Linked DNA regions of Homo sapiens: all the other regions are linked to region 1. Evidence: promoter capture Hi-C in 16 types of primary human blood cells and fetal thymus (Javierre and others, 2016). All regions are on one chromosome and are shown on one strand. The core of a region is centred on a gene start or on the middle of the fragment in contact, and the rest is flanking DNA. Distances in the headings are between cores, read along the strand shown.

Region 1 (3,325 bases), core at 688-3,187:
ATATAACTCTATTAAAAGTTAGGGAAGTGTCCTCTGAAATTATCAATTCTCTTGTTTCTTACTAGAAATATAAGAAGAAAAAAACTGACCTTCTAAGTTTACTTATCCAATAGTGGAGAGCTTGGTGCAATGAACACTGACCCATTTTCCAGAGAGAATATTGTACTCTCAAAAATTTCTCTTTCTTGTGTATAAACTCTTGCAGTTGGTATATTTGCAAGATGGGGTTCGGTAAATCTGAAAACACACTGTGGACCAGGAGTAATTACTTTTCTTCCAGCCCATACTTACGTGTTACCTTGACCTACATCCCTTCTACTATTTTGCTTCTGTTCTTTCCCACCCCTTAACCTCCACTATGTTGGTCAGGCTGGTCTCAAACTCCCAACCTCAGATGATCCGTCTGCCTCGGCCTCTCAAAGTGCTGGCATTACACATGTGAGCCACGACGCCCGGCCACTTGTGTTATCTTTTTGTTCCCATTAGTTAGGATGCAAAAAGTGACAACTTTTGCTTTCTATGAAAATGAAATGAGAAAGAAAGATATCTGGTGTCTGGCATGCTATGTAAAACAATTGTCTACTTATTTATGTTATTATATTTACATCCTATTATGCGCATCTAGGACAAAGATAGTTTCCTTTAGTTTGCTAGGAATCAGCAAAGAACCTCTGAAGGCACCTTGGAAATTTGAACTTTCATGCAAAAAATTTTTAATCAAATCGAGGATGTTTTTTCAATTGTGTATTCTCATTGCATATGATACTACTCCCAAGGATGTAGAAGTTAGTTCTTGGGAGTGGGAACAAATCTTACATATTTAAATGGTTTGTGGCCCTTCAAAGCTCAACCTATTTAACAAAATCTTATTCCTTAGTTTTTTTTTTTTTCTCTCCATTGGGTTTTCTTGTGTATCACATGAGAAGCACTGACATTGAGTTCATGGAAGATACACAAAAGGTATAAAAGTTCAGCATTACAAACCTATGGCAAATGGGTAGCTGTGATTGGAGTACTTTCCAAGATGTATTAGATCTCAAAGTCATATCATGAGAGGTGTCCTCTGCATACATATGGTTTGTCACTGGCCATCTTATAGATATTGCTTATGTTTGATCCTTAGCATTTCTGTCTGTGTTGTGGGCTTTGAAATGAAATATAAATAATTTATATTTTAACAATTCTACTGAAGTTGTTCAACACATCTATATTTAGGTCAAGAATTGAAGAAAAAATTCTTCACACTCTCTAGGTGAGTATCTAGCAGCTAGTGAAGTTAAAAATTTTCTCACATGCAACAAAATTAAAAGTTAAGTATAATAAAAATAAATGATAAAAATATTTTAAATTATTAAGTCTTTATCAGTTTCAAATAATTCATAAACATTCATTACTTAGCTGTATAATGTTTATCTAGAAACATTAGATAATGTTTATAATTTGTTAAATTTCTTATGTAATTTAATACATTACAATTTATATCAGTAAATAAACTATATTGAAGCCCACAAGCAAATTTAGTTATAAAGTTAAGTTAAATTTGAATAGCGTTTAAATTTAACTTTTATCTTAAAATTTTCATTTGGTTATTTTTAAACTTGCATTGAATAAAATGATTAAACTTTGTACTTTTTGAGTATAGAGATATACATATAGTACACAAATAGATAGATATTATATCTGTGTTATTAAATTTTCACGGTGGGTTCAATTAGGAAAAAAAATCTAAAAAGTCTCTGGGAACAAGATGGGGGAGACAATAATGAAAAACAAAATGGTTGAGAAACACGGCTCTAAACTCATGTAAAGAGTTCAAGAAGGAAAGCAAAAACAGAAATGGAAAGTGGTCCAGAAGCATTAAGAAAGTGGAAATCAGTATGTTCCCTATTTAAGGCATCTGCAGGAAGCAAAGCCTTCAGAGAACCTAGAGCCCAAGGTTCAGAGTCACCCATCTCAGCAAGCCCAGAAGCATCTGCAATATCTATGATGGCCTCGCCCTTTGCTTTACTGATGGCCCTGGTGGTGCTCAGCTGCAAGTCAAGCTGCTCTCTGGGCTGTGATCTCCCTGAGACCCACAGCCTGGATAACAGGAGGACCTTGATGCTCCTGGCACAAATGAGCAGAATCTCTCCTTCCTCCTGTCTGATGGACAGACATGACTTTGGATTTCCCCAGGAGGAGTTTGATGGCAACCAGTTCCAGAAGGCTCCAGCCATCTCTGTCCTCCATGAGCTGATCCAGCAGATCTTCAACCTCTTTACCACAAAAGATTCATCTGCTGCTTGGGATGAGGACCTCCTAGACAAATTCTGCACCGAACTCTACCAGCAGCTGAATGACTTGGAAGCCTGTGTGATGCAGGAGGAGAGGGTGGGAGAAACTCCCCTGATGAATGCGGACTCCATCTTGGCTGTGAAGAAATACTTCCGAAGAATCACTCTCTATCTGACAGAGAAGAAATACAGCCCTTGTGCCTGGGAGGTTGTCAGAGCAGAAATCATGAGATCCCTCTCTTTATCAACAAACTTGCAAGAAAGATTAAGGAGGAAGGAATAACACCTGGTCCAACATGAAACAATTCTTATTGACTCATATACCAGGTCACGCTTTCATGAATTCTGCCATTTCAAAGACTCTCACTTCTGCTATAACTATGACCATGCTGATAAACTGATTTATCTATTTAAATATTTATTTAGCTATTCATAAGATTTAAATTATTTTTGTTCATATAACATCATGTGCATCTTTACACTGTGGTTAGTGTAATAAAACATGTTCCTTATATCTACTCAATTCATTATTTTATGTTGTTCATTAAACTTTTACTATAGGAACTTCCTGTATGTGTTCATTCTTTAATACAAAATTCCTAGCCTGACTGTGCAACCTGATGAGAGAATAAAGGGTATAATTTATTTACTCATCATTATTATATGAGAGATGTAAGTAAAAATGACCTTTCTCTAAACCAGGTTGTATGTTGTACTCAAGTTATAAAGGTGAATACAATAAATCTACTTCCTACTCTCTTGCATGTTTGATTTTTGTATGGAATAAAACTAAAAATAGTAATCATACTTAGTATCAGTTATCCTGAATACTATAAGGAGAAAAAGGAATGAACAATGATTTCTTTCGGCAGGAGGTAAACTGAAACATGTGAGGAAATAAAAATAAACAGATATCCTCTATAAGTTGACTGATACAACATGTGGTAGAAACTGTCTATTGCCAGTTGGATATGTGAGTTTGCAAATTATAAGGAATGCAATTGCTGGGAGTTCATATGTGGCAAGCAAAATCCCAGAAATGAAAGTGCTCA
Region 2 (3,446 bases), core at 143-2,642, 410 kb before region 1:
AGCTTCTTTGCACTTCAGTTTCCTCACCTATAACATAGAGATATTAATAGTAGCTAACGAATGAGGTTGTTTCAGGATTATATTAGATTAAATATACAAAGTACTTAGAACAGTGCTTGACACATCGTAAGTGCTTAGCAAATATTAGCTACTACTATTATCAATTTTGAAATGAATATATTAAGAACGTAGCTCCTTTTTAAATTATACTTTAAGTTCTAGGGTACATGTGCACAACGTGCAGGTTTGTTACATATGTATACATGTGCCATGTTGGTGTGCTGCACCTATTAACTCATCATTTACATTAGGTATATCTCCTAATGCTATCTCTCCCCTCTCCCCCCACCCCATGACAGGCCCCGGTGTGTGATGTTCCCCGTCCTGTGTCCAAGCGTTCTCATTGTTCACTTCCCACCTATGAGTGAGAACATGCAGTGTTTGGTTTTTTGTCCTTGCGATAGTTTGCTGAGAATGATGGTTTCCAGCTTCATCCATGTCCCTACAAAGGACATGAACTCATCCTTTTTTATGGCTGCATAGTATTCCATGGTGTATATGTGCCACATTTTCTTAATCCAGTCTATCATTGATGGACATTTGGGTTGGTTCCAAGTCTTTGCTATTGTGAATAGTGCTGCAGTAAACATATGTGTGCATGTGTCTTTATAGCAGCATGATTTATAATCCTTTGGGTATATACCCAGTAATGGGATGGCTGGGTCAAATGGTATTTCTAGTTCTAGATCCTTGAGGAATCGCCACACTGACTTCAACCATGGTTGAACTAGTTTACAGTCCCACCAACAGTGTAAAAATGTTCCTATTTCTCCACATCCTCTCCGGCACCTGTTGTTTCCTGACTTTTTGATGATCGCCAAGGAATGTAGCTCCTTTTAATCTTAATCCAAATTCTATATGTGTTTATGGGGTGTAATCTCTGTACACATGCAATTTTAAACTTATTTTTTCTTTTTTCTGCATAAATATCTTTTTGATTTGGCTATATAGACTTCATGTGTTACTTTTAATAGCTCCATCAAGTTGTTGCATCATTTCCTGCAATAGTGCAAGAATGCCACATACCTTTTATAGTATTATAACGATACTTTTGTTGTAATATGTACAGGTTGTTCCTACTATTATTTTATTATATATGCAAGACGGCACTCAGATTTACCCTTGTTTTTGAGTGAGGCAAAATATAATTATATTTCATAACTGTAAAGTAATATCACAAGGAACATGTTGGAAAATTTATATTAATTCTATTGTTTTTTGCTTAAGGAACATAATTGCTAAAGATAAAATGTGAACTTTTAGAAGAATGACATTTCAATAAAACTTTCTAAAATGGTTGCCCTAAGTTACAATATCGTATTATGTGAATATTTTACAGCATGTCATCACTAGAATTTGTATTATTATTTGATAGATATAAACAAATGTTTATATCTCTTCTTGTGTGAAGTCTTGCTCATATCATTTGACCACTGAACTCTTGAAATTCTTTTCTTTTCTTTTTTATTGAGACAGAGTCTCACTCTGTCATCCGAGCTGAAATGCAGTGGTGCAATCATGAATCACTGCAGCCTTGATCTCCTGGGTTCAGGCAATCCACCCACCTCAGCCTCCAAGTAGCTGAGATTGCAGGCATGTGCACCCACACCTAGCTAATTTTTTAATTTTCTGTAGAGATGGGGTCTCCCTACATCGCCAAGGCTGGTCTTGAACTCCTGGGAGCAAGCAATCCTCCCAGGTTGGCTTCCCAAAGTGTGGAGATTAAGGTGTGAGCCACCTTGCTTGGGCGGAATTATTTTCTTATACACTTAAATTTAGATATGAACCCTTTTTTTTTTACATCTGATGAAAATAATTTTCCCTTCCATTGTAGTTTTTTGATTTACATAATTGTGATTTTTCAAATCTTTACGTATTTGAAAATTTTTCTTTGAATCTTTTTTATTATATCTGGTTTCATCCAGATAAAATTATCTTGTTCTTCTATTTTTTCTTATAAATGAATTCTTAACTTTGCGGTTTATTGTGATATGCCATATAAGAATGATTGAAAAAAAAAAGTTGCAGACCATCACGTTGAACATCTGGTATTTGGTTTTATGAGATAATAATTATAAGAAATACAATAGGATTCTACTCACTGTAGAAGCTGAGAGCAGAAGGCAGATTTTTTGAAGGGAATGTCTCTTTACTTTCCTTATTGCATTAGATCTCCCTGATCCAAACAACAAGCTCTGAGAAAGGGAAAAAAAAATCTATGCCCCAAATAGAGCAGAGTTTAGAACTAAAGACAATGCTGGCATCTCATTGTCTCCTTAGGTTAGGTGATCTAATTTATCTTTTCGTTTTATGAAATTAATCTCAAGCGAACACACTGTTCACACTTTTAAGTTAAGGGATGCTTAATGTGCTTAGTGCAAGCTAGAAATATTGATTTCTTAATGTAACACTTAAACACATATATTATTGCATCAATTCCTGGCAGAAACTATTTTAACTCTTTGAACTAGTAAAAAAGGAAAGTCCTGTTTGTGGTTAAAAATATGAGTGCATTTAGTAACACTTCCGGCCTGGTAAAATTACAATCCAGAAATGCTAACAAAAAATGTTGCCTTATTTGGTTACTTCACTTTAGCACAACAAAACCTTGTCTTTGGTTCTTTAAGCAGTTAACTTCAGTACCTCAAATGTTTCTTAATCTAGGTGCTGAAAATGAAAAGATACATAAGAAAAGATTTCTGCTGGGGCAATTTAAAGCTTAGTGCAGACAGATACAGAAAATTGATTGCAACATAATTTGGTAAATCTTAAGAACCAGACCATTTAACTGCTTGTGTCAAAGATTTTAAAGGAGACTCACAGTTTACAGTTAACAGTAGAGGGGCTATTATCCTATCTCCCTTTTGACACTGCCCCCAGCTCAACTTAAAAGGGCTTCAGAACCTCCCAGGCTCCTTTCACACCACCTCAAGCACCTAGCTCCTCAACCTGCTTCATCATCACATACCACCCAAGGATCCTATCCCAAGAAGGAGGATATACTTAGAATTAATTTTCCACCTTTCCTTTAGAGGCGATGGAACTAATCATCATGTTTCATACTCCTTTTGGCCTCAGTCACCATAGAAGTCCAAGCATTCCAGGTCACCACAGGAACTCTCCTCCATATGTTTCTGTATATCCCTTGATCTGACTCAATCTCCCATTCCTTCCAAAACTGCAATCCCTTCCAATGCAGCTGCTAGAATTCAGGGCTTGGGAAGCACAGTCTCTTTTATTTTCCAACTCTTCTTTGAACAACACCTTCACCTTCTTGCTCTAAGCCCTGGCTCACCACCCAACCCAACCCATATCCTGTTTACCTTCAGCCTTTGCAGGGGGTGGTGGTTTTTGCTCCCACACCCTATGCTTCCAGGTCCTGGAGG
Region 3 (3,200 bases), core at 594-3,093, 390 kb before region 1:
AGCTGGTCTCAAACTCCTGACCTCAAGTGATCTGCCTGCCTTGGCCTCCCAAAGTGCTGGGATTACAGGCATGAGCCACTGCACCTGGCCTTGGATTTTATTTATAATGTAAATGTTTTCTCATTTTTTTACTGCTCTTTTTTTGTTGCCATCAAAAAGTTTTTAAGTTAATAAACAATTTTAGTAGTCACATAAGTGTGCTGAGGTTAGGTAGACCAGAATGGAATATGAGAATTATGACTCAGGTTTCTTGAGTAGGTAAAAATTTGTTAGGAGTACCTCCAATAAATATCTGTCTTTAAAAGTCTAATTTATTTCCAAGCTATAGGTTGCATTTAGAAGACTGGGACTCCAATTCTGGGCTCTCTCTCTCTCCCTCTCTTAACTTCCCAGTGCCTAATTCTCCACAGCACAGGAACACTTATATATTTCTGGGACAAAGGCAAATATATGCAGGCTCCTCAGGTTAACACTGGAATGAGATCTCCTGACAGGAAAAAGGAAGCCAACGTGTTTTAGCAATCGCTTTTCCATAATAAACTGTAATGCTTTTGCAGAAGGTGGGTCCTGACACAAGGCTTTTTGAGGATTAAGTAGATTTTAGTCATCAAGCTTGATTCCAGCTAGGGCTTTGATATGTTTTCTTTATGTCAGATAATATATGTTTTTTTTTTAAAGAAGTATGATTTCTCTAGGGCAGATGTTTGATGGAAATTTATGGGCAAATTAGATCATCACTGAACTGATTTATTCTCTTGGTGTGTAACATTTAAATATTGATTGTGAGAGTCTCTGCCTTCAAAGAACTTATAGGCTAGTTATTGAGACACACAGCAAATTACAATATAATGTTGAAAATGCTATCAGTGCAATGGGAATCCATAGCAAGGGGTGCCTCAGTAAGATACTTGGGGGTAGGGGATAGGAAGACTGCAGCTTGGGCAGCATCTGTGTTGTCCCGGTAAAGGGAAAGTTATTAGTAGGTGAAGGACCTTAAGAGTGAAGCTAACACAGCCTTGGTGCTGAGGTGAAGGGTGCACACAACTAATACCTAATGATATGTGATAAGAAGCGCAGTGAGAAGTGTGGATCAGATTAGATACCTGGAAAATAGTGGAGAACCAGAAATTATTGAAAGATTACTGTTGATCCCAGTGCTCTTCAGTATAGCTTCAATGCACTTTCAAGGAGATCAGTGTGCACATCAACTTCCTTCGTTTGCCTGCACAGAGACTTTCATCTGAGTGGGCCAAAGTTAGACTCAACCATTCAGGGCCTGAGATTCATTTCTTAAGACCAGTGCTGTTCAAGAGAAATATAATATAATGCATGCCATGTGAGCTACATATGCAATTTTTTTTTACCAGTCACATTAGAAAAATAAAAAGAAACAGGTGAAATTAATTTTACTAATATACTTCAACTCAATAGATCAAAATATCTCAACAAGTAATCAACATAAAAATTGAGATGTTTTGCTTTTTGATACTGATATATTTTATATATATGTAGATATATATATAGGTATTTATACTGTCTCCTAAATCCAGTGTGAAGTTTTACACTCACAGCACATCTCAATTCAGATTATTCACACTTCAGATACACAATAGCAACATGTGGCTGGGGGTTACTGACAAATTAAAGCTACCCAGACCACTCCCTGCACAAGAGTATAACTGTGTTTTGGTTCATCTCTTCACCAGTTAAGGATGCCGAATCCTATGATGTCCTAGAAATCATTCTGTTACTCAGGCATTTACTCATTCATTCATGCCCTTGTTCTTAGAACAAACATTTATTGAGCACCTCCTATATGTGAAATACTTCACTGTGAGAAGGGGAACATTGACCATAAAAATGAATAATACCATCTAGTATCAGAAAGAGAGGCGGAAACAAATATTCACAAGATGTTATGACAACAGTAATAAGTGGAGCAGTGAAGCAGTGATTGTCCATGGAATAGGAAGTGGATATGCCAGAGTTTATGCTGGGGTAGGGGTGGGGAAGGGGAGTTGTGGGTGTTTCAAATTAAACTCATACCCTGGAAATTTCAACCTCACAAGAGAGAACCATTGTTGCCTCACCCATAGAAAGCCCCTTCTCATATAAAACCCCACTGAGACAGCATTACTGATAGGATCATGCCAAATCCCAGGGGTGCTAATGTGCAAAGAAGGTTGCAGGACATTGAATTAAGAGGATATGCAAATTTCTATGGGACACTGGGGGGATTCTGAAGGACTTCATTGAAAAGGTGGTATTTTTGTTGCATTTTGAAGGATAAGTTTATCAATTTAAAGAAGAGCATTCTAGGAAGAGGATACAAAGAATACAATGTGCAAAGGCACGTAAGTGGGGAAGGAGGAAATGTATTATGTTTAGTAAACAATAAAGATTCATATAACTGCATCGTAGGGTGGTGTGTGTGTGTGTGTGTGTGTGTGTATGTGTGTAAAGTGGGTTAGACATGTTTGATAATATAGTTTGGGACTATATTTTGATGAGTAATGTGTACTCCATTAAAAAGTTCTCACCCTGTGTTTTAGGGAATTAACATTATTTCTCCCCACAATCAATACTTTCTTCATAGTCAAATTCAAATTTCAGGAAAATCCTTGATTAGAATTATATCTCTTTGGCTTCTCTTCTACCCCTATCTCTTTTTTTCTGGACAACTGAATTTTCAGACATTAATATGAACCAGTGACTGAAAAACATTTCCTCTGTCAACTAATTTATCTTCTTACTGAATGAATAATCAAATTCAATTGGATTAAACAAGCTGTAATACCACTGTCAAAAGCCATTAGCAATATAAGAGCTTCAAGCCATAAAGAACTATTTTTGTATATCTTAGAGTTTTCTTCATGAAAGGAAAAACTCAAACTAAAGGAAATAATGTGTGTCATTACAAGCTCTGAGTCCTTTAGGGTCTTCTCATCAGCTCTGTGGTTTATTTATTTTTTCTTTTCTTTTTGTCAAGATTAAGAGTAGTGCTGTCTACTTGATTATCTCAAAAGTACAATGTTTTCTTGGCAGGATTAAAAACCTGGATGTATCAAAGCTTGCACATTATTCGAATTTTGAAATAAAAAACAATGAGGGGACATAATGAAAACCAAGGAGGAGGGGTGGGGAACTTGATACCCCCTTCTTCCTTTTGAGAGATCATTTTATCCACTTCCTGGAGCTAT
Region 4 (3,454 bases), core at 809-3,308, 430 kb before region 1:
GGTTTGGTCGAGGTCTTGGGCCATTGTTTTCCGCTCAGGGTAGTGCCTGAATCAGACGACCCCTTGCTACCCAGACTTGGATAACCCTTGGGCAGTCCTGTGGGACAGTGCTTTCTTTAGTGCAGTATCTTTGAAAAGGTAGGCAGTAATATTTTTGCCTTATTTCCAAATTTTGGGTCATGTTTTTTCTTAACAAGCCCTAAAATAAAAGGAAGACAAAATTTTCAATAATTTTGAATACGCAAAAATTTTCAGTGGTCTCCCTTTTTGATTACTATGTCAACAAGACAAGGAGAGTCGGTCTATTTGTGAACATAGATTTTGCCCTGCCCTTCTGTTCTTATCCTATAAATCCCCCTCTGTTAACCTGTACCCTTGCTTTTCTAAAGATAATTATCAAGAACTAGGTCACCTTACAACAATTCTGATTATGAAACAGTATAAGGATTCCAACAGCTTCTCCCTTTTTGATAATCTCTCATAAATGTCTTCCCAACTTCTAGGTCCTAGCCAACAAAGTACTGAAATGGTTATCACCAGTAGCTGACTATGTTGGGTCTTGAGCAGTGGTTCTTCAGTGTCCTACAGTTCCCTTTTACTAAACATGTTATTTTTGAAGTCGTCTCCAAACCATTCCAGAATCATCAAATCTTCAGGAGGAAGTATTCACACAAATGCATGAAATGTATCACCTCAGCCAACCATATCAGCTTTCCCACTGAATTGTTATATTTCTGCCCCTGACCAGTATGTCTGTCCTGGATGGGTACTACAAAATGGGCCCAAGCTGGCTGGTAACCCATCCTCATCTGAAGGTATTAAAGCTGGCAAGTTGTCATGGCCTAAGAAACTCACATAACTCCCCACTACCTTGTAGATATTTGGGCCAAAATAAAAATTCTAAATAACATGGAGGTGTGCTTAGAGATCCCCAATGGTGTGTGAATCACATCTTTTTACAATACACCTGTATCACAGCCACAATGAGTAGGGACATTTTGGCCACTACTTTTGACAATGGATTAGATTCCCACATTGGAAGCTTTGTGAAAAAGCTAAAGTTCTATTAGCAAGCAGCCACTCTAGATTTAGCAGAACATTGTTGAAAAAATATCTGGGGGAACAATAAGTAAACTAATTATAATAATGACAGTAATACATTTTAAAAATTATTGCATCTTCAGATTCTCAGCCAGGCAAGCCTATGCCAGCATGAAGAAGCCAAAGATGTCTGAACTGGTATAAATTCAGGTTCAAAATCCACAACATCATCGTTGTGCACAGTGTGGTCATTGGGAAGAAAAAAGTTAAACTCAGAGACTCAATGCCCTTAATAAAATTGTATCCAAAGAAACTTCTCCACAGGCAATTATCAGAATAATCAACTTCTCTTTATCCTGCCCAAGAAGGAAAAAAAATGTACTGAAAAGAAAATAGTGGCTAGTGTTTATTAAGAAGCAAAAGATATGCAAGTATGTACCAGGCCAGTCCTAAGGTACCCTTCTGAAAAAACATTGAATATAATTGGATAAATGTATAAGAGATTTGTCTGCAATCCAAGTTCTCTTAACACTCTTGATTGTAAATAACTGAACAAATTATTGATCTAAAAAATACAGCTATGTGTCTTTACCCTGACTCTGCAGTATAGACCATGATACAACATAAACATTAACATTTTAGTAACTAGAGACTTAGATATTTTTGTCATAGAAGGCCTAATTGAACCTTTCTAAATTTCTTATAGGTTAGTATGTGACTATTACTCTAAAACTTTAAGGAAATAAGAACAAAAAACAAAGAGAAGTGTTCCATTCTCCCATTATCATAGTGATAAAACAAAATAAGTAGTATGTCACAAGTGAAGAAAATATTACTGAAATCTAATATTAAAAATGCATTTATTGCAGGTACTTTATAGAGGGAATTGCAAGTGATATACTAGGTTTCTCAAAAAATATTTACATCACATTTTAGGTGGCAATTCCTTATAATGACCTTTAATGAAAGTGGAGAGTCCAGTTATAAAGTGTAACCTGGCATCTGTGTTTTTGGTTGAGGGAAGAACCCCATGCTTTAAAATGAGTTAAGTAGGGTCAGTTTTGACAGTCTGCTTTAAAGTTGGTATGCTCCAGATAGTTGGAATTAGCCATATGTTTCTTGTTGCAATAGAATCAAGTTCTCCTTCAGTTTTCTTTATTCGTTCCTTCTATTCAAAGTCCCTTTTACCCTAGAAATATCCTTCATTGCAAATCACCTTGTCTTGTCTTCAAAGTTCACTTCAAATTGTATCTCCCCTATCATTTCTGAAACTCTACTGAAGATGACTTAAGTTGCATATAATTTGGATTTTTTGAAGTAAAATCTCACCATTTTTTCACTTTTCTTAGATTAATGCTGCACATTAAAAGCATATTCAGGTTAACAGAATGGCCATCTACCCTGGACTCCCAGGATCTTCACATACCTATTATAAATAATAATAGGTATTATTATTTCTGTTATAGGATAAGCAAAGTGTAAGATTAAGCCCTGAACCCTATACCTCCCTCAGTGAAAGAGAGAGTATGTTCAATCTTGATCTGAAGAGACATGATTCTCAGCTTCTGTGCTTTGTATAGAAAAGGGCCAAAAAGTAATAGATACCCAGATGTATTTTAATATCACAGATGCAACATAATCTCTGCTTAGCGTGTCAGGATCTAAAGCTATGATGAAAGACCCATATAATGAGCTCTTATGTGACCCACTGCTCTTTATTCCACTTTAAAAACTTAAGGCAGGAAATAAGTCTAAAAGCATTGCTTTTCTTCTCTGGCAAATCCATATGTTGTCTGTACATACAATCCTAAAAACAAATTGGGAACAAAGTCATATTTGTCTTCTGAGCATCTTCAAGAGCAACAACAAAACAGCTAATATTTATTAAGAGCCACATATTCTTCATTTAATCCTCACAGATATTAATGTCATTGCTATTAATGTAATTTCCATTTTACAGAGGAGGAGAGAGAGAGAAGTTGAATTGCTGTAACTTCATCTTTTCTGCTTATTTGCCTCTCCCCAAAGCTTCCTTGTCCGTTTGGAATCTTCAGGACTTCCCTCTCTCTAGCCCATCAAAATGTCAATCAAACCTATCAAACCTGTTAAGTTGCCAAAATCACCTTAAAATGTTACCTCACCCAGGGGTTTATGAATTTTACAGGTATTAAGCCTTAAATTGAGATAATTAAATTCTAGGTAGGATGTGATGTTTGAGAAAGGACAAGTGTTGGTGTTATTATCACTATCATTGCATGAGGAACATGAGGCTCAGAGCATTTAAGAAGTCTTCTCAAATTTATATAACTAAAGTAATTGAGATTCAGTCCTGAATCTGTCCTAATTGCAAAGTCTAAACTCTTGATTAATTATTATTTTTTCCACTGTTGAGATTCAGATAACAACACCCCAA

The links. Contacts are between HindIII fragments. The CHiCAGO score rates a contact against its expected background, and 5 or more counts as called.
Region 2: a contact is called between a fragment that was not itself captured here and the fragment with the promoter of IFNA13 in region 1, in 6 of 17 cell types (naive CD4 T cells, naive CD8 T cells, M1 macrophages and 3 more). The highest score is 6.1, in naive CD4 T cells.
Region 3: a contact is called between a fragment that was not itself captured here and the fragment with the promoter of IFNA13 in region 1, in 1 of 17 cell types (M1 macrophages). The highest score is 5.4, in M1 macrophages.
Region 4: a fragment that was not itself captured here is called in contact with the fragment with the promoter of IFNA13 in region 1 in 2 of 17 cell types (total B cells and naive B cells); the score reaches 5.2 in total B cells.

The regions. Positions count from the first base shown.
Region 1 is chr9:21,366,669-21,369,993 of GRCh38, reverse strand. IFNA13 (interferon alpha 13) reads left to right here and starts at 1,937. Exons shown (of 1, transcript NM_006900.4): 1 at 1,937-2,622. The coding sequence starts at 1,984. The coding sequence ends at 2,556. The HindIII fragment of the contact is 13,511 bases long and covers 1-3,325 here.
Region 2 is chr9:21,777,734-21,781,179 of GRCh38, reverse strand. No RefSeq gene overlaps it. Among named protein-coding and RNA genes, the nearest start is that of MTAP, 23 kb to the left of the region's middle. The HindIII fragment of the contact is 2,776 bases long and covers 5-2,780 here.
Region 3 is chr9:21,755,051-21,758,250 of GRCh38, reverse strand. All of the region lies in intron 1 of LOC107987026 (a long non-coding RNA gene), which reads left to right. Among named protein-coding and RNA genes, the nearest start is that of MTAP, 46 kb to the left of the region's middle. The HindIII fragment of the contact is 2,458 bases long and covers 615-3,072 here.
Region 4 is chr9:21,797,350-21,800,803 of GRCh38, reverse strand. No RefSeq gene overlaps it. Among named protein-coding and RNA genes, the nearest start is that of MTAP, 3.6 kb to the left of the region's middle. The HindIII fragment of the contact is 2,027 bases long and covers 1,045-3,071 here.